4 separate regions of the Homo sapiens genome follow, and all the other regions are linked to region 2. The links are contacts of gene promoters, found by promoter capture Hi-C in blood cells and fetal thymus (Javierre and others, 2016). All regions are on one chromosome and are shown on one strand. The core of a region is centred on a gene start or on the middle of the fragment in contact, and the rest is flanking DNA. Distances in the headings are between cores, read along the strand shown. Region 1 overlaps EFHC2 (EF-hand domain containing 2). Region 2 holds the start of NDP-AS1 (NDP antisense RNA 1). Region 3 overlaps EFHC2 (EF-hand domain containing 2). Region 4 has its middle 28 kb from the start of EFHC2.

The links. The method cuts DNA at HindIII sites, captures the fragments that hold promoters and counts their contacts. A CHiCAGO score of 5 or more calls a contact.
Region 1: a fragment that was not itself captured here is called in contact with the fragment with the promoter of NDP-AS1 in region 2 in 2 of 17 cell types (M2 macrophages and naive CD4 T cells); the score reaches 6.4 in M2 macrophages.
Region 3: a contact is called between a fragment that was not itself captured here and the fragment with the promoter of NDP-AS1 in region 2, in 4 of 17 cell types (total CD8 T cells, M2 macrophages, total CD4 T cells and 1 more). The highest score is 6.0, in total CD8 T cells.
Region 4: a fragment that was not itself captured here is called in contact with the fragment with the promoter of NDP-AS1 in region 2 in 2 of 17 cell types (non-activated CD4 T cells and total B cells); the score reaches 7.9 in non-activated CD4 T cells.

Annotation. Positions count from the first base shown.
Region 1 is chrX:44,221,847-44,227,370 of GRCh38, forward strand. The region is part of intron 11 of EFHC2 (EF-hand domain containing 2); the gene reads right to left. Among named protein-coding and RNA genes, the nearest start is that of EFHC2, 120 kb to the right of the region's middle. The HindIII fragment of the contact is 1,019 bases long and covers 1,331-2,349 here.
Region 2 is chrX:43,946,630-43,952,264 of GRCh38, forward strand. It overlaps NDP-AS1 (NDP antisense RNA 1), which reads left to right and starts at 3,103. Exons shown (of 6, transcript NR_046631.1): 1 at 3,103-3,451. NDP (norrin cystine knot growth factor NDP) reads right to left here. Exons shown (of 3, transcript NM_000266.4): 3 at 2,147-3,397. The coding sequence ends at 3,170. RefSeq lists enhancers at 2,780-3,297, 3,298-3,814. The HindIII fragment of the contact is 3,781 bases long and covers 1-3,618 here.
Region 3 is chrX:44,297,989-44,303,934 of GRCh38, forward strand. All of the region lies in intron 2 of EFHC2 (EF-hand domain containing 2), which reads right to left. Among named protein-coding and RNA genes, the nearest start is that of EFHC2, 43 kb to the right of the region's middle. The HindIII fragment of the contact is 6,252 bases long and covers 1-4,542 here.
Region 4 is chrX:44,368,624-44,373,963 of GRCh38, forward strand. No RefSeq gene overlaps it. Among named protein-coding and RNA genes, the nearest start is that of EFHC2, 28 kb to the left of the region's middle. The HindIII fragment of the contact is 2,235 bases long and covers 1,227-3,461 here.

The DNA of each region.
Region 1 (5,524 bases), core at 590-3,089, 270 kb after region 2:
TTTTGTTGCTACAGCAAATAGTATTCCCCTTTTCAGAACACTTCTTAACTAGTTATTGCTGATATAAAGTAAAGCTATTGTTCTATATATAGCTTTCTTATATTTAGCTACTTTCCTGAATACTCTTAATAGTTCCAACCATTTTAAAATTGATTCCTTTGGATTTTCCAAGTATACAATCATATTTGGATTCTAATTTTAAAAAATTAGTCTTCAGTTCTATTTTGAACTATTTATACAGTGATTCCTAAATGCCTATTTCCACAATACCTAGAGTAACAAAATAATGGAATTTTATGTCTGGGAGGTGCCTTATATGATCTAATCCAAGAATTACCTAGTCTAGTACCTACTGGGGTAGGTATGTAAGATAAATAGGAGAAAGTGCCTTAGCGTGAGACAATAAGGACTTGTAGAAACTGAGAAGAAATGCAGAGAACAGGCTCTATCTAAGGAGGGCAAGTGCCATTCACCCCCAAAAGATTGTTGCCATAGAGAAATGTGGGTCCAATTTCTATTTTCCAAGAGGCACCAGATATATATATTCTTAGGTTTAAACTCCCAATTTTAAAAACATTAAACAAAAGCCATACAAAATATAACTGCCAGCTTTCAACCTATAAACCTGTTTTTAATCCAATACCTTCATTTAAGGCAATGGAAACTCAGAAAAGTTCATCAGAGATTGCAAAAGTAGCCAAGCGTAGGGGAGGGCTTTGCCTCTTGTTTAGCTGCTTGGCGAGTCAAAACAATATTTTCAAAGTACTAAAACTAGGTAGGTGCTTTGTCCCTGTTGTCAACATATATTCGTGTTCCCTGTTTGGCTCATGTTGGTTTGGATTTACTATCCCTGCAATATTCATGGCAAATGAAAAGGGTATCTTTTATTTATTCAATTTCCCCCCAGCTTTATTAAAGTATAATTGACAAATAAAATTGTATATATTTACAGCACATAATGTAATGTTTTGATACAGGTATACATTTAGAAGTAATTAACTCAAGCTAACTCACATATCTATCACCTCACATGCTTATTTTTTTGTGGTGAGAACATTTAAGAGCTACTCTCTTAGCAATCCAAGTATATAATACATCATTATTCACTATAGTCACCATGATGTACAATAGATCTCCAGATCTCCAGAACTTATTCATCCTGTCTAACTGAAACTTTCTACAAAGGCTATCTTTTAAATAGCCTTTCTATATTTGGGGAAATTCCCACGTAAGTTTCCTACCACCCCAACATAGAGGTCAGAGCTCAATTTCCCAGACTTCCTTGCAGTTAGAAATATGCAGGTGACCCAGGCTCTCTACCAATCAGGGAAGCTTACTTAAGACTGTGCCTCAGAAGGGATTAACAGAAGAAAAGCAGCTCAGGGTGGGCCACGTTTGGTGTCAAAGGAGCCCAGCCTTCAGGGGTGGTAAAGGACGATTGCCAGAAATAGTGGTAGTTATGGCTGTGGTAAAATCAAGTTCTTGGCAGCAATGCAAGTGCAGCAATGAGTCATGGGTGGTGGTAACAGAGGTCATTTTCTCATCAGACAAGTTCTACAGCCCTGTTTTGGGCACTGTTCCTATAGTTCAGCCTTGAGCTTGTTTCTCCAGCCCTTCCAAAGACACTGTGAACCACCCAGGCTCCTTTTAATAAATTCCTTTTTTTTTTGCTTAACTAGCCAGAGAGGATATTCCTTTTTAAAACTAAGCCCTCACCAATACAAACACCACCACCAGACAGTGACAGAATCAAATCAAAGATCTCCATCTTTTTGATTCCCAGGCTAGCATTCTTTCTACAACATCACATTATTTATATTTAATGCTTTTAGGAAAGTTCAAAATGCTGTTTTCAAAAACATATATGGAAATTTCCATTTTGAAGACAGGCTATGAATACTGTCCAAGAATCTATTTAGTTCATGATAAGAACCTATGTTTGAGTGCTTTGGGATTTTATTTGTCTTTGTTTTTGCTTTTGTTCATATAGATTCATAGACTAGTGGCTTCCTTAAAAGATGCTAGATTGCTTACAATAAAAAACACCAATAGCAATGTACACAGAGTAGTCCAAATAAAAATAGGGCAAAACCATATAAAAGGAGAGATAATTGTCCTAGATAAATCAGGATGAGATCATTACCATGTTCTAAGCACTAAATTTACAATTTGCTTCCGTGAAGTAAAGGACAGCAATAGGGTAGATTATATTAATGTTTCCCAGCCTTGGTCCACCAACAATGATGTTTATTATTTTCCATCTTCAAGGCCTACAAGTTTTTAGAGTTTCTCTTTCAACCTCATTTATTAAAGAATGTTTTGAATGACCCCCACCATGAGTAAATATAAAGCTTATTGAAATACTGGAAACAAGATGTACCTTCCTATTACTGTTGTTGGTGACACCAGTTCACAACTATTGGGATAAAGCATTTTCACTTTCTGAGTATCCACCATGCACTAGTCAGCTACAATAAGAATTTTAATATCAGTATCAAATGTATTCATCACAACAGCTGTGTCCTATGTATTACTATCCCCATTTTACAGATGAAAAAATTATTCAGCAGCTTCCCCAAGGCCACTAAGCTGGTAAACAAGAGAGCCAAGAGCTAGATCTGGGTTTGCCAACTCCAAAACCAGTGATAAGAACTATTTCTATTATATTACCTCTTTTAGGAAGAATTTTAGTTTTACAAGGGAGAAAATCTCCTTGAGGTTCTAAATCTTAGAAGGAATTTATTACATGGATGTTCACAGGAGAGCTACTGACTCTGCAACTGATAACGGGGACCTGAAGAAAAAATCTGTAATAATTCACTATGTTCATTGAGGTCTGATACACTGGGTTCTGGAGGCATCTGGGAAAGACACAAGAGTGAACCAGGCATGGGCCCTGCCCTCTGAGAGCTTCCCCAGGTGGAGAGAAGAGACAAGCACTCAGCTAACCAAAATACACACAGGCTACATGGGGCCAGGTGTCATCTCTGATGGGTAGATCAAGGCTCAGGGAGGTGGCCAGAGAGATGGACTGACCACATCTTCCTTGGCATTGGGCTCTCAGTGCTGCTGCTGCTGCTGCTGCTGCCTGTGGTTCAGAGTCCAGGGCCCTCACTGGGAAGCCCCACCCTGCCTATGTTCCCAACTGCATGAAATACTAGCCCTGCCAAGCTTAGTCCCTGCCCTGCTCCCTGCTGAAATCTGCCCACCACTGCCACCAGGTATCTATCCTAAGGCTCTAAGAAAGGTTATCTGCACTCTCTTGGATAACGATCAGCAGCTCTCACAGGCGAATCTGATAGACCATGCCAAAAAGATTCTAAAGAGGATCAATGAAACAGAAGCAGAAGTGGTGAATTCCCACAAGGCAAAAGAGAAATGTTCCCTACCCAAATAAAAAAATTAAAAAAAAAAAAAACAAAAACCATTCCCTACTTCTGTTTCCTGATGGCTGCCTGTCCCTGCATTCCATCAGGTCTATTCTGAGGCAAATATCTCCGAGAGGCCCACACATTAATCCATTATTGACCATGGCACCTTATACAGAGGTAGTTTATCAGCTCCTACCCTCAAAGTTTTTCTGAGAGGAGATGCACATCTCTGAGAAAAAGGGCAATGCTGGGGGCTTGGACCACTGCCCAGAGCAGCAGGTCTGGGCCCCGAAGCCCCAGGTGTATGCTGAGAGTGCCAGGTATCTAAGCAGAAGAGAGTCAGGGCCACAGAGGCCAAGCCCATAGGCCTATGCTGCAGTCCTGCCTTTGCTTGCCTCTGCTCTTCTCTACTATCTCAATGTACAAATTTGAAAAGAGAACATTTTACAAGAATATTATAAACTTACATTTTCAGAGTTTCCAGTTGTCAGAGCCTAGAAGGGACCTCAGAGACCAATATATGAACAAATGAGTGAGATACAGGTAGGTGAAGTGAGTTGCCCAAGTTACTTGGCTAGTGAGGATCAGGCCTAGCTTCTCCTTACTTCCCTAAGTAAGAGCCAGATGGCCCTTCCCTGGTGCAAGGAAATCAATTATTTACTTGATTGCTGCAAGCTTTAGACTGAACGTTCCTTGAGAAATAGGATCGTTCATTAAATTATTCAGCAAACATCTATTGCACTTGGCAGGAGCTGATGTGGAGGCAGGGAAGCAAACAAGTAACAACTTGACAGGAGGCTACCAGTGAAGAGTAGGTATAAAGCATTTAGCACGATGCTTAGCCCCCAGTAAGTGCTCAATACATGGTGGCTTCTACAAAAGTATTCTTCTAGTGAGATGGAAATACGGAGCTAAAGGTAGGCAAACTCATGTGACACACTGATGCAGGGTTAAGAGCAGAAGAATGATCCGATCAGAGTTTAGGAAGGTCACTCTGGCAAAACTTTGCAGGATGAGAGTTAAGAAAAAGAGATCAGTTACACTGCTCTCCAGAGGGTCCAAGTAAACAGTGATGAAAAGCTGAACTACAACCGTGAAGCTGCAGATGTAAAGAAGGGAAAGTTCCCAGAGGTAGTTCAAGACGTATAATTCCAAAGGGTGAGTGGGAGAGGTCGAGAGAGGGGAGAGGGGAGACACAAAGCCAACACCTGGTCTGGACTCTTGGGGATGCCCATGATGGCCTTTATCAGGATACAGTCTCCTAGCTGCTACTTTATGAAAGAAGAAAATGAGGTCAAGTTAGGGAAAGTTATTTCTGGGATGCCTAAGAGACATGCGAGGGGGAAACGTCCCAGAGGTATTCGTGTTTCCAGGTTTATAGCTCAGGAGAAAGGTCTGAGCTTGAAGAACTAGCATGGACACAATCAGCCTACAGGTCAAAGCCAAAGCAGTGAGGGCTAGATAAAATGTACACATTCAGAACACATGTACACAGGGAGGGGAACATCATACACCGGGGCCTGTCGGGGGGTCGGGACCTAGGGGAGGGATAGCATCAGGAGAAATACGTAATGTAGATGATGGGTTGATGGGTGCAGCAAACCACCATGGCACGTGTATACCTAGGTAACAAACCTGCACGTTCTGCACATGTACCCCAGAATTTAAAGTATAATAAAAAAAAGAAAAAGAAAAAGAAGAAGGAAGGAAGGAAGGAAGGAGAAGAGAAAAGAGAGAAGGTAGAACACAAAAGACACAAAAGCAGAGAATTATCTCAGAGAATTATTTCATCTGAGGCATATTAAACACTAAACAAAAAAAAAATGTACCCATTCAACTAGTATTTATTAACACCCTATTGTTTGCCAGACACTGAAATAAGTCATAAGGCTAAAGCAGAAAACAAGAAAGAGAAGGTCCCTGCCCTCAAAGAGGTTATATTCTGATGAGGAGAGTCAGAATACACACACACACACAAACACACACACACATACGCATACATAATGAAAGGAAAATATTAGCTAGTAAAAGCACTGAGCAAAGAATTGAATTAGGGTATGATGTGATAGACACGGGCTATGTAGTTCCTTTTTCTTTGCTCAAAGAGTTTGAAAAGCATAAGATGGGGCTGAAGACAAGGTGCAGGGACCATT
Region 2 (5,635 bases), core at 1,853-4,352:
TCAGTTTCCCAGTCATAACGTGTATGCGACCTGCTCTACCTAACACAAAATAATGTGTTGGGTGGACTAGCAAACACAGGAGTTTAGAAGAAAATCAACCACTATTTCCTCAGGACCTAGAAAGGTTGATTTGTCCTTCATTTTGAGCTTCTGGGGATAGTTCAGGAGCTTATGTGTATTAAGATTTAAGGTATTGGTCTGTAAAACTGGGATGTCAAGAAAATCAATTAAGTTCATAAACCTATCTTCCACTGCAGTACTAACTCATTATTATTAAATGCTTAAAAATGATGAGGGCAAGATCAGTTTACAGGAGGCTTGCCCTCCACCATTATAGATTATCAGACAGATTTCTAAGAGGTAAGCTACTAAAATTATAACATACTTTAATTTTCTCATGCATAGTAAATGGGGAAGCAAATGAACACTTCTTAGACATTCCAGGAGTAATGTTTTTAACTGATCAATGTTTTCATTTGGTTGTCTCTCAATCCTTAGGGGTAGACACCAAAATAAGGCTAAATATGTTTAATTTTTAAAAGATAGAAAACAAATTCCATAGTAACTTAATATCCAGTAATGTCTGAAATCTCTCAGTTCCCAAGGCTATTTTTAGGTCTTTAGGGAAAATATAACTATTTTTCCCCTTTCTCAGCCTTGCTATTCCCCTAAACTTTACCCTGTCTCGCCACACTCTAAGATCCTGAAAGGAGCCAGGCTCCTTTCACTGGTGGCAGGAAGGAAATTAAAGCAGTCAGGGTTGTGAGGAGCAGGAAGCGTGGGTTCGAGTTCCAAATCCAAGAGTGTCTGTGACTTTCAGCCAGTTCCTGGATTTCTACAGGCCTCCATTTGCTCATGTATTTAAGGAGAGAAGAGGATGTATGCTTTCTAATAGTTCTTCCAAGGCCACTGTCCTGTGATTCTTTAATGCTCCAAGTATATTCTGCTCATTTCCATGGGGGAAACTTTGTCAATAGACCATGTAATGGGATTTGAAGGGACTATTTTCTATGGCTTCCAGAGAATTTGGAAGATATGAGTCATATAACTGCCCCCTGTAGTCCCAAATTGGTAGAAGGAAATAAAGACTAGAGTTTAGGGTATAGATTATAGATTCTCAAAGAAAATTGAGTTTTTAAGGCCCAGAAAATACTTTTTAAGGCTGGAAGTATTATTTTTCACTTTTTGATTAGCAACATGAAAGAACAGTCATAAATGTGACCAACAGTTAATACTTTCATTATCAGTTAAAAATTATAACCATTTAACTTTCAGTATTAAATTTAATTCCATTTATGACAAAATTCTTCATGTAATGGTCCAAACTGCCATTTCGCATTTGCCTTCAGAATGAGGAGAACCTCCAATTTAGGAGACTGGCTGGCTGTGTCACCACAGAGATTAAGATCAAGGTCAAGATTTAATAGCATTAGTTTCATTCTGTTTCAAAGCCATGAATACAAGTATAACCCTGCTGGCTTTCTTAAGAATGTGTGAAAGCTGTGCCAAAGAGTGTTCAAAACCATTATCTCTACTGGAAAAGTAATTCACAGGTTGGCTGTACTAACAGTGGGGGAGTTAATATCATCTCTAGTTAACCAGGACAAGGTTGCCCTGGAAACTGAATTGCCAAGTCTGGATTTGTATTGAGATACCTAAGAGGGACATAGCACTGTGCTAACATCATGAGTATTCTTGTAATGCCCAGTAATATCATTCGATCCTGAGCACTGCACAGTCAATGGCACAGAAATGTTGTTAACTATTTGTCCTTCTGCTGGTTCTTCCAACTTCACTTATGGATATTTATTTTCTTCTGAGAAAAGTGAAGAAATTAAAAAGGAGGGGACTCCTCTGTTTCATTCCATAGCTTCCAAGGAAGCCAAAATGCATTAGATTTTGTGTTTATTCAATGGGCTAAAATCTAAAACTCAGAGTCAAATTTAATAAGCCCTCAACACCTTGTTACATTGATTTCAAAAAAATGTTCCCACAATGCATTCTGGAACCCCATTTCTGTCTCCTTTTTTTTTTTTTTGACTCTTTTACTATATCATAGGAGATGCTCAAGCACTAGCTACATGTATGTTCTAGTCCACATGATAGTAGGATATCAAGTAGGAAAAAAATACTTAAACAGTCAAAATTTTGAATATACTCTTTTTATTTCAAAACGTGGGAATAACTCAAAATTTGAGCCTCCAGGACCAAAACACATTTGAACCAAACGTTCAGAAGACAAGCCAGGCCACCATTTTGGCAACATGTTTCACATGGACAAGTGGATATTAGAGAATGATGCCCGTGACACGGCTAAAGCTATAGCACACCCACAAATAGATTCATACTTGGTTGTCTAATTTGCATGCATGAGTATGGTGCATTCTCCATGCCACTAGTACATATATGCCTTTTCCAGAGTCAGTGCAGGATCCGTATTTGTGCAAGTCTTTAAAAGTCTGCTCCCTTACAAAATTTTACCATAATTTATCTGAGACAGCCTTCCTGTGACAAATTCTTTATGCTGCTTTTACTTTCAAAAAGTCATTTCTGAATAATAATTATAGCTGTCAAGAGTTCCAGCATCACATAAAAGAATCTGTTTGTTAGTTATTTTAATGTCAGTTCGCTGGCTGTGAGTAAACGTAGCTAAACATATCCACATGCTTGGTATCTGGACTTTGAAATCGGTAACCTTTAGCAGCAATGGCAACCTTAGACCAAAATGACAAGGTAAAAAAAAACATCAACAATAACAGAAGATGTCCCAGGAAAAGCTGGGCTTTTCTACTTTCCAAAGTAAATTCTTCCCCAGCGTGCACCAAACACTGACAGCCTGACACGCTTGTGTATGAGGGCCCACTTTTTCCCACTAATGCTGAATTGTTGGAAACCCAAACAGCATTGAGAGCCAAGGGGGAAAATGCCTGAATCTGAAAATGAACCAAAAGAAATTGTACCAGAGAAAGGAGATGGGAACTGCAAAGAAGTTCCCAGAGTATCTCTCTCTGTCAACAAGCATGTAGAGTCTTTATTACTAGAATATGCAGAGTCCCGGGAGAATTGTTGCATCCTTTTTTGCCTTAACTCTTTTCTTGCCAGTCTTTCCCTGGCTGGTCGAACTGCCTCTACAGTTGTCCCATCCAGAAGCCACACACAGCAGCGGGCCTCAGGAATTGCATTCCTCGCAGTGACAGGAGAGGATGTACCGGTAGGTGGCAGTGAGTCGCATGCCCCCTGAGCATCGCAGCCGCAGTGCCTTCAGCTTGGAAGTCTGGGGCCGGCAGCAGTGACAGGAGGAACGGAAGGGTTGCTTGAGGACAGTGCTGAACGACACCAAAGGCTCGGAGCGTGACGCCTGGCTGCAGTGCCCCTCGCACCTGGCCAGGAGCACCATCTGGGGAAAGAAAAGGAGGTGGTTACTCTGTGGGCATGCCACAACCTTAGCCAGGTAAAACAGCATCTTTTGAAAGACCCTCACACTCGTTGCCAATTCCTGCTAGATTAGACCAGTGGCTCAATGCATGTTGCATTTTTTTTAAGTCAACACCCAGGCCTCATTCAGATCGATTGAATTAAAATCCTTGGAGATAGGGACCAGGCTTTCATGGTTTTCAAAGCTTCTTAGGTGATTTCTAAGTGTACTGAGGGTTTAGAACCACTGAATGACGCCCATCACTGTGATGTGCGAGTAAAAACCAAAGAACAAAAGAAATTTCTCCTGACAGGTAGTGGTCTACCACTGGCCCAATGCATTGCAATTCTACCAGTAGCAAAATGCAGAAAGTCAATCCAAATTGAAACCAAGAAGTAAATTAAAATGACTACCAAAAAAAAAAAAAAAAAAAAGAAATTGATTTGTGCAGGAAATAGCTAAAGAACAGGAATATAGTTTCTGAATAAGAAAATAGGATAGCCTGAGTAATGCTTAGGAAGAAATATTCTGGGTGCTGCAATTTGGGACAAGAGAATGAAGTAGAGACAGGGCATGTCTGGGGCCCTGAAATCACACTTCTGGGTTTATATGTTGAAGGAGCCTGGGATTTATGTAATTGCATCCGCATCTTCAGAGTCATTTGCGGCAAATATTAGGATGTACCCATTCTGATAATCTCTATTTCCAAAGATTGGGCTGGAATAACGGAGGCTATGTGTTCTTTATAGTAGCTCTTAATCTGGCTTTAGCAAACAGACACCTTTAAGAATCTGATGAAAACTACCAAAGTTATCCCCAGAAAAATGTACATAAGCACACACACAATTTGCATACAGCTTAACGGAATGGAAAAAAGGATCATTTATGTATCCCATACAAAACTCCTGGTATCCTGGGAGTGGGAGTAATAGGTGGGTAGGGTGGGACAGCTTGACTCATTAAGCTGCATAATCCTAATATCAAGGTGGGGAGGGGAATGGAGAATCTGAGATTATTGGTCCCATGGTTATGTAAGAGGTTTTGCTTGGTGAATTTCATGTTAAGTGATGGAGAAAAAAATCCCCTGGGCCAGGTGTATTGTCTCATGCCTATAATCCCAACACTTTGGAGTCTGAGGCAGGAGGATCACTTGACCCCAGGAGTTTGAGACCAGCCTGGGCAACATAGCATGACCGTGTCTCTAAAAAAAAAAATAAAAAGTTAACCAGGCGTGGTGATGTGCACCTGTAGTCCCAGCTACTTTGGCAGCTGAGGCAGGAGGATCACTTGAACCCAGGAATTAGAGGCTGCAGGAAGCTATGATCAAGCCACTGTACTCCAGCATGAGTGACAGAGCAAGGCCCTGTCTCAAAAAGAAAAGAAAAGAAAAGAAAAATTTGTCCTATAATTCCAGAACCAACAGCAAGATCATAAAAAGTGAAACTGTTCAAATGAAAGATTAAAAGATACATATATATGCATGAAACCTTTTGACGTTTACCTTACAATATTGTAGGAATTCGCAGTTATTATTAAAGACTCACCAGCTATTATCTCTGACATCATCCTGTAGGGCAGAATTAAACACCCAAGGTTTACAAGAAAAAAATAGCCAGTCCATCTTTCCAAAAGGGAGAAAAGATGAATTCTGGTAATTATAGATTATTGGCATAGTTATCTGAGAATATACTGGGGCTAAATCCAACAATCACTTAGCAACCACCAAGGCAATATGAAATACTAGAAAAAAAAAACAGCAGGGCTTAGGGAAGAATAAGTTGGACTAGACCAGTGAATTTATTTTCTCTGAATGATCGCAGAGGCAGAGAGAAAATAGCAGCTGTAAGCTGTTTTGATTTTTTTAAAGCTTTTGATTCTATCCTACCTGCTCTTCATTTTGACAGGCAAAGTAAACTATCAGAAATGATTGTTTGTTTGTTTTGTTTTGTTTTTAGAGACAGAGTCTTGCTATGTTGTCCAGGCTGCAGTGCAGTGGTTATTCACAGGCATGATCATAGCACACTACAGCCTTAAACTCCTGAGCTCAAGGGATCCTCCTGCCTCAGCCTCCTGTGTAGCCAGGACTACAGGCATGTACCACTGTGCCTGGCTCTGAAATGGGTTTTGAGAGACTATGCCATAGGTCAGTAGTACACAGGCTAGTCCCTAATTCCCACCCCCATTTCTCTAATGAGAGAGAGAGTCCAAGATCTTCCTTAG
Region 3 (5,946 bases), core at 167-2,666, 350 kb after region 2:
AAAAAAAAAACACCAGAAGGGAAGGGACAAGAAGGTTGAGAGAGATGGAATAAAAGAAAAGGAAATGGGACAACATTGAAAAAAGAATGGAGATAAGCATTTCTTCATATCTTTGAATAATGTGGTGTTATTAACATCTTAAAGTATTTTAAAACCTCTGAAGGAGGTTAGAAGAGTAATTTGAAAAAACTGAAGCAGAATGTTTTAAAGTAAAGGGATATCAAACCAGAGGACTAAAAAGGACTGTAAAATGCCCAGAAATCTGTTATAGTATATTATTACATGAATTTGCTACACTTTGTTTATATACACATTGTCAAAGCTGCGCCTCAAATCTTAAATCTCAAACAGTAAGCTAGATTCCAGGGCAGATGCACCATAAGATTCCGTTTATCTGAAATCTGAGAAAAAAATGAAAGACTAAGCTATGGTGATAGAAGTCAGAACAATGGGAAAGGGCTAAACGAATTGGGGGAATAAGGGAACCTCCTGAGGCAACAGAGACGTCTAGACGGTGTCTGGGGTGGTGGTTACACAGATGCATACATTTGTCACAACTAATGGAATTGTATACTTAAAATAGGCTCATTTTGGCCAGGTGTGGTGGCTCATGCCTGTAATGCCAGCGCTTTGGGAGGCTGAGGCAGGCAGATCACGAGGTCAGCAGCTCGAGACCAGCCTGGCCAACATGGTGAAACCCCGTCTCTACTAAAAATACAAAAATTAGCCAGGCGTGCTGGCGGGCGTTTGTAATCCCAGCTACTTGGGAGGCTGAGGCAGGAGAATTGCATGAACCCAGGAGGTAGAGGTTGCAGTGAGCAGAGACCGCGCCATTGCACTCCAGCCTGGGCAACAGAGTGAGACTCTGTCTCAAAAAAAAAAAAAAAAAAAAAAAAAGGCTCATTTTATTACATATAAATTATACCTCAATAAAGTTGATTTTAAGAATTAAAATGAAGTTTACCTCAATAAATGAGGACTCAAACAGCAAAATCCTAAAGAACACAGTTATTCTGTATCCTGAACATGGTGGTGGTTACATGAATCTATATATGGGATAAGATTCCACAGGACTGTTAAACTAAGGGGGAAAAAGTGAGTGCATGTAAAAACTGGTGAAATCCAAATAAAGTTTGCGGTTTAGTTAATAGTATTATACTGTAAACCAAAAATAAAATTCTAAGCCCCCCAGCCATCTGAACAGATCCCTCCTCTAGGCCAAGGACATTCCCAAGTTAGCCTGAAAAACTAGTTTCAGGCCATGATGGGAAGGGGGAACCAGACATTCCTTATTATACCCTCCTCCCTTTTGGAATTCAGGAAAAGTTGACCAGCATTATCGTCAACACAGACCTTAAGTCTGATAAGAAACATTTACAATCTATTCTGTCTGAAGCCTGCTTCCTGGAGGCTGCATCTGCATGATAAAACGTTGGTCTCCACAAGCCCTTATCATAACCCAGACATTCCTTTATATTGATAATAACTCCTTCAACCAATTGCCAATCAGAAAATCTTTGAATCTGCCTGTGACTTGGAAGCCTCTCCCCGGCTTTGTGTTGGCCCGCCTTTCCAGATCAAACCAATGTACATCTTACATATATTGATTGATGTATTATGTCTCACTAAAAATGTATGAAAGCAAGCTGTACCCCGACCACCTTGGGCACATGTCGTCAGGACCTCCTCAGGCTGTCACAGGCACATCCTTAACCTTGGCAAAATAAACTTTCTAAATTGATTGAGACCTGTCTCAGATACTTTGGGGTTCACAATGCCAATGCTGATTTCCTGCATTTTTGTTCTTGTTTTACCATGTTGCAGAAGGTAAAATCCTGGTTTTGATAAGGTATATCAAACTGTTATATAAGATGTTATCATCGGGGAAAGCTGTGAAAAGGGTATTCAGGAACTCTCTGTACTATTTTTGTGACTTTTTGTGAGTCCAAAATTACTTTAAAAAAAATTTTTTTAAGAATACAGCTAGATTATATGGTCTATGGCATTTGTGCTATCACCCACCATCAGCGTTACAAAAAGTGAGTTTACCATAGGGCAGAGTCCTGCAAATACAAAATAAAGGAAGGTAAATAATTTTTTTTTTAATATTTCAAATAAACTTGCAGCTGGTTTGAACTCGGGGGGGAAGAATACATAAATAACCATGACTTTTATAGATTAAAAGTTCAGAACAAAATATAAATCAGCCTAAAATTTAAGTCAACAAGTCAAATAGTGACTATCAGTTTCTTCCTAATTTGTGAACTAAAATCTTATAAATGACAAGGATTTTATGTTCAAAATAACTATAATTAGTGTGCACAGAGGATGAGGCAGCAAGAGGGTAGTCATCTGTAAGACAAGAAGAGAGGCCTCAGGAGAAACCAACCCTGCCAGCACCTTGACCTTGGACTTCCAGCCTCCAGAACTGTGAGAAAAAAAATTTCTGTTTAAGCCACCCAGTCTGTAGTATTTTGTTATGGTGAAATCGTCTTTACAAAAATCATAATTGAGAAAATTATTACAGTGAAAGAGATCTGACCTAACCAACTCCATCTTGCTTCTAACCTCCAAGCTGTCCTTGTTCATTCTGAGGCATAGGTCAAACTAACTTCAGGAGGAACTTAGTGTATAGTTAAACTTTGAAACAAAAACATACTAGCCCTTTCCCAAAACAACCCCTTCCTGCCTAGGGACTAGACTGCCTTTGCAGAAGTAACGAATTAGCCACAAGATTAGTGATTATGGTTTAGGAGTCATATAGCTGGAGGCTGCAAGATTCTAAACCTCCCCAAATTGCTCCTGGGGATGAATAAGATCACTATTATAAAACCTAACATCACCAGGTACAGTGGCTCACACCTGTAACACCAGCACTTTGGGAGGTCAAGGCGGGCAGATCATGAGGTCAGGAGATCGAGACCATCCTGGCCAGCACAGTGAAACCCCATCTACACTAAAAATACACAAAATTAGCCGGGCGTGGTGGCACACGCCTGTAGTCCCAGCTACTTGGGAGGCTGAGGCAGGAGAATCGCTTGAACCCAGGAGATGGAGGTTGCAGTGAGCCAAGATCACGCCACTGCACTCCAGCATGGGTGATAGAGTGAGACTCTATCTCAAAAAAAAAAAAAAAAAAAGGAAAACCTAACATCAGTGCTTGAGATATTTTGCAGACCCTGTACTCAATGGATCAGCTGGCACCACCCAGATTGACAAACTGGCTCATCTGGCCTTGTGGCCCCCACCCAGGAACAATTCAGTGCAAGAGGACAGCTTCAACTCCCTATGATTTCCAACCTGACCAATCAGCACTCCCCACTTTCCAACCCACTCCCCCCCCGACCAAATTATACTTAAAAAACCCAATTCCTGAGTTTTGTGGGAGACTGATTTGAGTAATATTAAAACTCTGGTCTCCTGAACAGCCAGCTTTGTGTGAATAACTCTTTCTCTATTACAATTCCCCTATCTTGATAAATGGGCTCTGTCTAGGCAGCAGGCATGGTGAACCAGTTGGGCAGTTACAATGGCAACCCAAACAAACTAATATTTTAAGCTGTAATTTATATACCATAAAATTTACTACTTTTAAGCATACAGTTCAATGGCTTTTTGTAAATTTACAGAGCTGTGTAATCATCACCACAATCCAGTTTAAAACATTTCTATCACTTCCCCCACAAAAGTCCCCTCTCCCACCATCAGCCCCAGTCAACTGCTGATCTGCTTTTTCCTATGTATTTGCCTTTTCTAGGATTTCATATATATGGAATCATATAATAGGAAGTCTTCTGTGTCTGGCTTCTTTTACTTAGTGTAATGTTTTTGAGGTTCACCCATGTTGTAACATATATATCATTAGGTTTCTTTATTGTTGTATAGTTTTCATTATGTAGATATACCATATTTTGTTTATCCATTATTACTTAAGGGACATTTGGGTTGTTCCCTGTTTTTTGGCTACTACGAATAATGATGCTATAAACATTTCACACAGAAGTTTTTGTGTGAACATGTTTTAATTTCTTTTAGATGGATACATAGAAGTGGAATTACTGGGTCATGCAGCAAGTATATGTTTAACTAAGAAACTGTCAAACTGTCTTTCAAAATGGCAGCACCATTTTACATTCCTACCAGGAATGTATGAAGGTTCTAGTTTCTCTACATGATCACCGACACTTAGTGGTAAGAGTCTTAAAATTATAGCCATTCTAATGGGGATGTAGTGGTACCTACAAAAGTTAAAGTTCAAAAAGACAATTTTAACTTTGGACTAATCAGAATAAGCCACAGGCCTAGTTACTGATAAAAAGTTTTGGCCTGAGGGAAGGGCCTTAAAATGTTGTCAAATAGCTAAATTCTAGGTTTTAGAAAAGAGGGAAGGAAGAACTCTCTTCTTTAGTAAAAGGCTCATTTATGATTCTCATTCTTTTTATTCCAAAAACATTTATTCCAGACTTGGGGATTATTTTTATTAAGTGCCTTTTGAATTTCAAAAGAAGATTAAAGAAACCTACATAATACAATGAAATTGGAAGCTTTATCACTTTAATATAAATTTAAAGACTAAGTGTTTTATTCTTAGTGACAAATGCAGAATGCATAGTTGAGAATTTGGGGTATGACATGGTTGATTTCAGGCAAGATTTTTTATTTCTTCTCTAAAACTAAATAGCTGAAGATCTGTGTACTTGTGATGTAAAACATGGGATTAAAACGGCAAATGTATTGCAATTACGTTGTCTTATAATTATACATGTTGGTGTCTTTTATGACATGGTAATAGCAAGAGTCAGATAATCTGAGAATTATATAAACCTATAGAAAGATTTCCATTTGAAATTTCGGGTATGGTTTAATGGTATATCTAATGTATTTTCCAGTTTTTTTAAAAGCTTAATTGTATTTTATTTTTATATATTCTGATTATATTTTATAACATTCCTAACTGGCTTTAGGCAAAACTTCAAGAATCTGTATTTACGTATTGTTCTTTGTTAAGCAAGTGAAATTATAATGTACCTGATCATTCGTTAATCCTACCGCAGGAAAATTAAAAATTCTAGCTAGTACTGGGTAAGAAAGAGAAAAGTAGCCCCTGACATCCAGGAGCCGGCCTATACTATCAGCTGGTCTTGGTGCTGTTACAAGCTGGCCTGGCATCCACAGCTAGGCCTTGGTGTTCTCCTGCTAAACAAGAATAATTTCAGAGACCACCAACATCAGACAAGGCCACTCTGTGACCGTGACGGATCAAGACAAAACCAAGACCACTCCACAGTCACATCTAAACACAGAAAATGAACCTTGTCCAGCCATGAAATGTCAAACATCCCCCTCTCCTGGCTCACAGAAGTGACAGCTGCTTCTCTCCCAATTATAGGTATAGACTCACTCTAGTCTGTTCTCTCCCTCTGAGATTTATTAAGATACCCAGTTGTAGATGTACCCCTACTTCCTGATAGCACCCAATCCAGAGCAAAGCCCTGCTTCCTTAATCACTCCCCACAATTACTTAACACAAGCCCAAATCCTATAATAAGCCTTTTCTAACACCTGCTTCATTAGACATCCCACAGTTGCTTAGGGTATGTTTTTTCCCTTGCTGCAAATGAATAATAAACTAACTTGTTTAATCTAAAAAAAAAAAAAAAAATCAAGATGACCCAGGGGACCAAATTATATTTTAAAAATTTATTTTTATATTGTTCAAATCATAGAGTCACACAGCTACATAAATAATCAGCTACATAAATAATCAGCTCATTACAAGCTCGATGTCAATTAATGTAAGTGATTAAAATTCAATTGTGCGGTCAGTAGTTTTGATTATAACCATTATGTTTACAATAGATGGAAAAAAAAAGAAATAATATTTTCAAATGTATGCATATCCCATAAGATCAACTTTTATCTTGCCACTTACTATAACTGAGTCAT
Region 4 (5,340 bases), core at 1,094-3,593, 420 kb after region 2:
GTGCCCAGCCAAGAAAAAATATTTTTATAAACTTAGTGTGGTCTAAGTGGACAGTGTATATAAAGTGTACAGTTGTGTACAGTAATGTCCTAGGCCTTCACATTCACTCACCACTCGCTCACTCACCAGGAGCAACTTCTGGCCCTGCAAGCTCCGTTCACGGTAAGTGTCCTTTACAAGTGTATCTTTTTTTATCTTTTATACCATATTTTTACTATGTATTTTCTATGTTTAGAAATACAAATACTTACCATTGTGTGACAGTTGTCTACAGTATTCAGTAGAGTCACATGCTGCACAGGTTTGTAGCCTAGGAGCAATAAGCTATACAATATAGCCTAGGTGTGTAGTAGGCGATACCATCTAGGTTTGTGTTAGGACACTCTATGATGTCCGCACCCTATCACCCTAATGATGCATTTCTCACAACCTATCCCTGTTGTTAAGCAACACATGACTGTATAAAGATGCTTAATTGACTTGGACTGGCTTAAGTTGGGAAATAAATCTCCCATTACCCATAGGCCTGCCCTCGTGCAGGTCAAGGTTAGAATATTTATTTTCACCTGCTGCAACCTCTCTGACAAAGGTTACAAATGAACCCCTGATTGTCAAACCCAATGGACATTTTACTGTCTTTTTTTTTTAAGACAGTGTCTCACTCTGTCACCCAGGCTGGAGTACAGTGTCACGATATTGGCTCACTGCAACCTCCACCTCCCAGGTTCAAGCGATCCTCCTGCCTCAGCCTCCCAAGTAGCTGGGATTACAGGTGCATGCCACCACTCCTGGCTAAATTTTGTATTTTTAGTAGAGACAGTGTTTCACCTTGTAGGCCAGGCTGTTCTTGAACTCCTGACCTCAAGCGGTCCACCTGCCTAGGCCTCCCAAAATGCTGGGATTACAGGCATGAGCCACTGTGCCTGGCCCAGACATTTACTGTCTTTACCTTCTAGATTGTCCTGAAGCAGTTGACACTGGGGTCCACTAGTTCCTCCTAGAAAGTCCCTAGTGCCCCAGCTTCAATAGCATTGCACTCTCTGGGGCCTCTTTTCATGACCCCTGAATGTTATTTCTGTGTCTCCTTCACGCTCCTCTCTCAATCTCCCTGATTCTCATCCTCAGTCTATAACTTCTTAACATGCTCTCTGATTGATACGACTTGACCTCATGCACTTAACCATAAGTGCTTCCTAATCTATGCCCTAGCCCAGAAATGTCCCCTAAGCTTTAGAATCAATAGGGCTCAAAACATGCTACCCCAAAGTATGGCACCTTGGCATATTGAATATTTTAAGCTGAAAGAATTTGAGAAACAGCAGGTACAGAAAGGACTCTCTGACCTTCCCCTGAAGCAGGTCTGAAGACCCTCATGTGAGAGGTGCCCTCCCTAGACCTAGAAGAAAGAGGCATCCTTATCTCCGAAGATGGGACACCAAGAAGAATCCAAATGAACAGGCCTTGCTAAATTTCCCCCGGTTAACTATCCTTAGCTTATACCGCTTTATCTTATCACACTTTTTCATGACTCTTCACTCTTTATCACACCAGTATAAAGATGCTCAGGTTTAATGATTTCTTTGCTCTTCATTTCCTTCTGAAGACTCTCATGTCATATAAAACTTATATTTAGTTAATATGTATGCTTTTCTCTTGTTAATCTGTCTTTTGTCAACCTAATTTATTGAGCCCCAAACAGAGAACCTAGGAGGGTAGAAGAAAAAAAATATTTTTTCCTCCCCTACAGAATACCCCATCCAAATTCCTGCTGCATGGGCCCGCTTGGGTGGTCCATTGGCCCCTGTAATCCAAAAAGTCCAAAACAGTGCTCATTACACTTTCCCCTGAAATTTATCTCCTGTCTTTCATCTCAGCAAAAGACACACAACCAGAAACCTGAGGATGAACCTATGGCTCTCCTCTCACCCTCCACAGCAATCAAACACCAAGCCCTGGTAATTCCACCCACTAAAATATGCTTCAAACCCACCACTCATTTCTCTACTCCTGCTTTCATTGCTTTAATTCAATCTAAGAATCGTAGCAAAAGACCTCCCAAGCGGTCTCAGCTTCTAGTCTTGCCTGCCTCGCATCCATACCTGGTACCACCTGAATGATTTACCTAAATTGCAAATCTGACCACGTCACTTTCTTTTTCACAACCCTTCCATGGTGCCTCATTTCCTGCTAAGCTCCCTAGCATGGCATGGCTGGCTTGGAGTAGCGAAGAAGCCCTTCTTGAGCTGGCCTTTGGACACCTCTCTAGTATCTTTCCATACTGACTATACCCAGCACTGTACCTATACTGACTGTATCTATCCACAAAATGTATAGAAATGAACTGGGCGCCTGTAGTCCCAGCTACTCAGGAGGCTGTGGTGAGAAGATCGCTTGGGTGGCAGAGCAAGACCTTGTCTCAAAAAGCACGTTATTCACCAGTAATCCTAGCGAGGCTTGCAGTGAGCCATATAAACCACGTCGTTTCTTATCTCTAACCCTTCGCTCATGCTGGAACCTCTGCCTTTCCTGCCCCCAGCCTCCTGGTCAATTACTATTTGTCCTCCTTGTCATGCCAGGGCTCTCTCTTCTAAGAGACCTCCTCCTCTGTTCCCATTGTCCCCTGTGCATACTGCCAGCATACATGTTTTGTCCATGAATATGTTTTTCTCTCCAGCTGAGCTAAAAAGTCCTTGAGGGAATAGACCCCATCCTGTTCAACGTTGCATCTTAGCATATAGTAGAAACTCAATAGGCTTTTGTTGTCTGAATTGAATCTGAAACACAGAGAGTAAAATTTTTTAAATCAAGTAATGACATAATTGATTTTATAAAAATGAGAAATGCTCTTTATTTTTAAAAACTCAAGAAATACATCAAAGTACAAATCCCCCAGAGTCTCATCAGGTGGAATTAGCCAATGTCAACAGATCCAATGATGGATATAGAGAATATAACACATCCAGACACCCCGAAGTAATTTCATAAGAATACAGTTGGACTAGACATGCTATGTCTAACAAAACATATGAAATTTAATAATAGTTTAATTTAACTTGAGAAAAAAACCTGAAGTGAATCTGCAGGAATTTTCTGAACCATCCATGAAGTGTTCCTTCACCACAAGCAATATTAGCAAGTTTTAAAAGTGATTCAAACTCCCAGGCAAATGATCTGCACTTGGCAGAGTAGTTAACAACTTCAATTATTGTGTAACTTTGGGATTGGCTAGGGAGTTCCCAGGAGGATGGAAAAGTTTTACCTAGAGACAAAATGTATTGAGTCAAGCAATAGGGAGTTCAAAAACAATTATTATTAAGAGTCTCACTGTTTTTTTAACTTCACGAAATTGGTTTTCATTACTTTCACTCTTGGTTCAATAAAAAGGCTTTTAAATTGGATGTTTTTTTAGAATTTAATAAGCTCCTTTAAAGTGATGCAAATATTTCTTAAATCCTGAAATAAGCTTTCCACTGCATTCAGATGTGCCCAACTGAAAAGTTAATTCCAATCAATGGCATTTAACAGATGTACCTAATTGAAGGATTACTTAGTGGGCACTTTACAGCATGCAATCTAAGAGAACCACCACCCCCGCTTTTCAGGAACTTACAATCTGGTAGAAATGTGTTCATTCCTCCCTTAAATATTTTTCACAAAAGATGACAGTGTGCCTGGTATTATGCAATGCGTGATGGTTGTGATGTCTATGTCTTACCTAAAGTAAGTGGAGGGTTAAGAGGTTACTTTGAATTGATACAGTCATGGAACTCAAACAACTTATCTGTTAAGCCTCCATCATTATGCCTTCCTCCTTTATCCCCTTCAGAAGAGTTAGCTGATCTGCTTGCTCTCTTCCCTTGCCACCATGTGCATGTGTGGATTATAGCATGCTCTATATTACCCATCTCTCTTCCCTGTGGGACTATGGATATCTGGAGGGCAAGGCTAAGCCTTGGACATGTTTGCACTGATAACCTAGAGCAGTGTCTGACATTAAATATTTGATGAAAGAAAGAAAAGAAAAGAAAGAAAGAAAGAGAAAAGAAAAGAAAACAAGAAAGAAGGAAAGGAAAGGAAGGAAGGAAAGAAGGGTGGATAGATGAATGGATGGATGGATGACTTAATGAATGGGGTTGGCATTAGAGAATGGCCTTAAAGAGTGAGTGGACTTCCAATATGTGGACATGGTGAAAAGAACATTCCAGATAAAAGGAAAAACATAAGGAAAAGCCCAAGACTCATTCAAGAATTGACAGGAGGCCGGGCATGGTGGCTCATGCCAGTAATCCCAGCACTTTGGGAGTCCAAGGAGGGTGGATCTCCTGAGGTCGGGAGTTCGAGACCAGCCTGGCCAACATGGTGAAACCCCATCTCTACTAAAAATCCAAAAAATTAACTGGGCTTGGTGGTGCACTCCTGCAGTCTCAGCTACTTGGTGGTGTGTGCCTGTAGTCCCAGCTACTTGGTAGTGTGCACCTATAGTCCCAGCTACTGAGGTGGGAGAATCGCTTGAGCCCAGGAGGCGGAGGTTGCAGTGAGCTGAGGTTGCACCACTGCCCTCCAGCCTGGGCAACAGAGTGAGACTCTGTCTCAAAAACAAAAACAAAACAAAACATAAAAAGAATTGACAGGTAGAACAGTTGGGTTGGAGTTGGGGATAGGATAAGGCTGAGAATGTGATGATTTGACACCAAACTGAGAAGTGGCTTATAAGTGAGGCTAAGGAGTGAGGCTATTATTTATCAGCCAGTAGAGATCTACTCTATAGAATGGTAAAGGAAGGTAAAATGAGGCAGGTGGACAGGTTGGGAGATTATTACAAACATATGAGAACAGATGAGAAATAACAAGGGAGATTTGAAGTGAATATGGAAGACAAATTATATACATGAATGTTCAAAACTAAACAACAGATTGGATTTGGAAAATGAAAGAGAAAGACCCGAAGATAACTCAGATTTGGTGTCTGATGAAAGCATGAACAGTAGCATTAATAACAGAGACAGGAAAGTCATAAGGGAAACAAGTGTGAGATCAGTGTTGCCAAGAATTTTTCAATTGCCTGGTCTCACAACTTCAGAGTAAATGGCGGCTTCTGTTTTAAATAAACTGATTTTGAGATCGAGATTCCTTTCAGGAATTCACAAGAAACCAGCCAATCCTCAGGTCTTCCAGACTCAGCATTCTACTACAAATGGTTTCCAGACTGAACCAAAGGGTCCTGCTTCATAGATGCTGCCTAGAAAGAGTGATGGAGTGGTTAAGAGCCTGGACTCTGAAACCAGATTGTCTGAGTTTCAATCCCAGCCTCTATCCTCATGAGTAATGTGGTCTTGGACT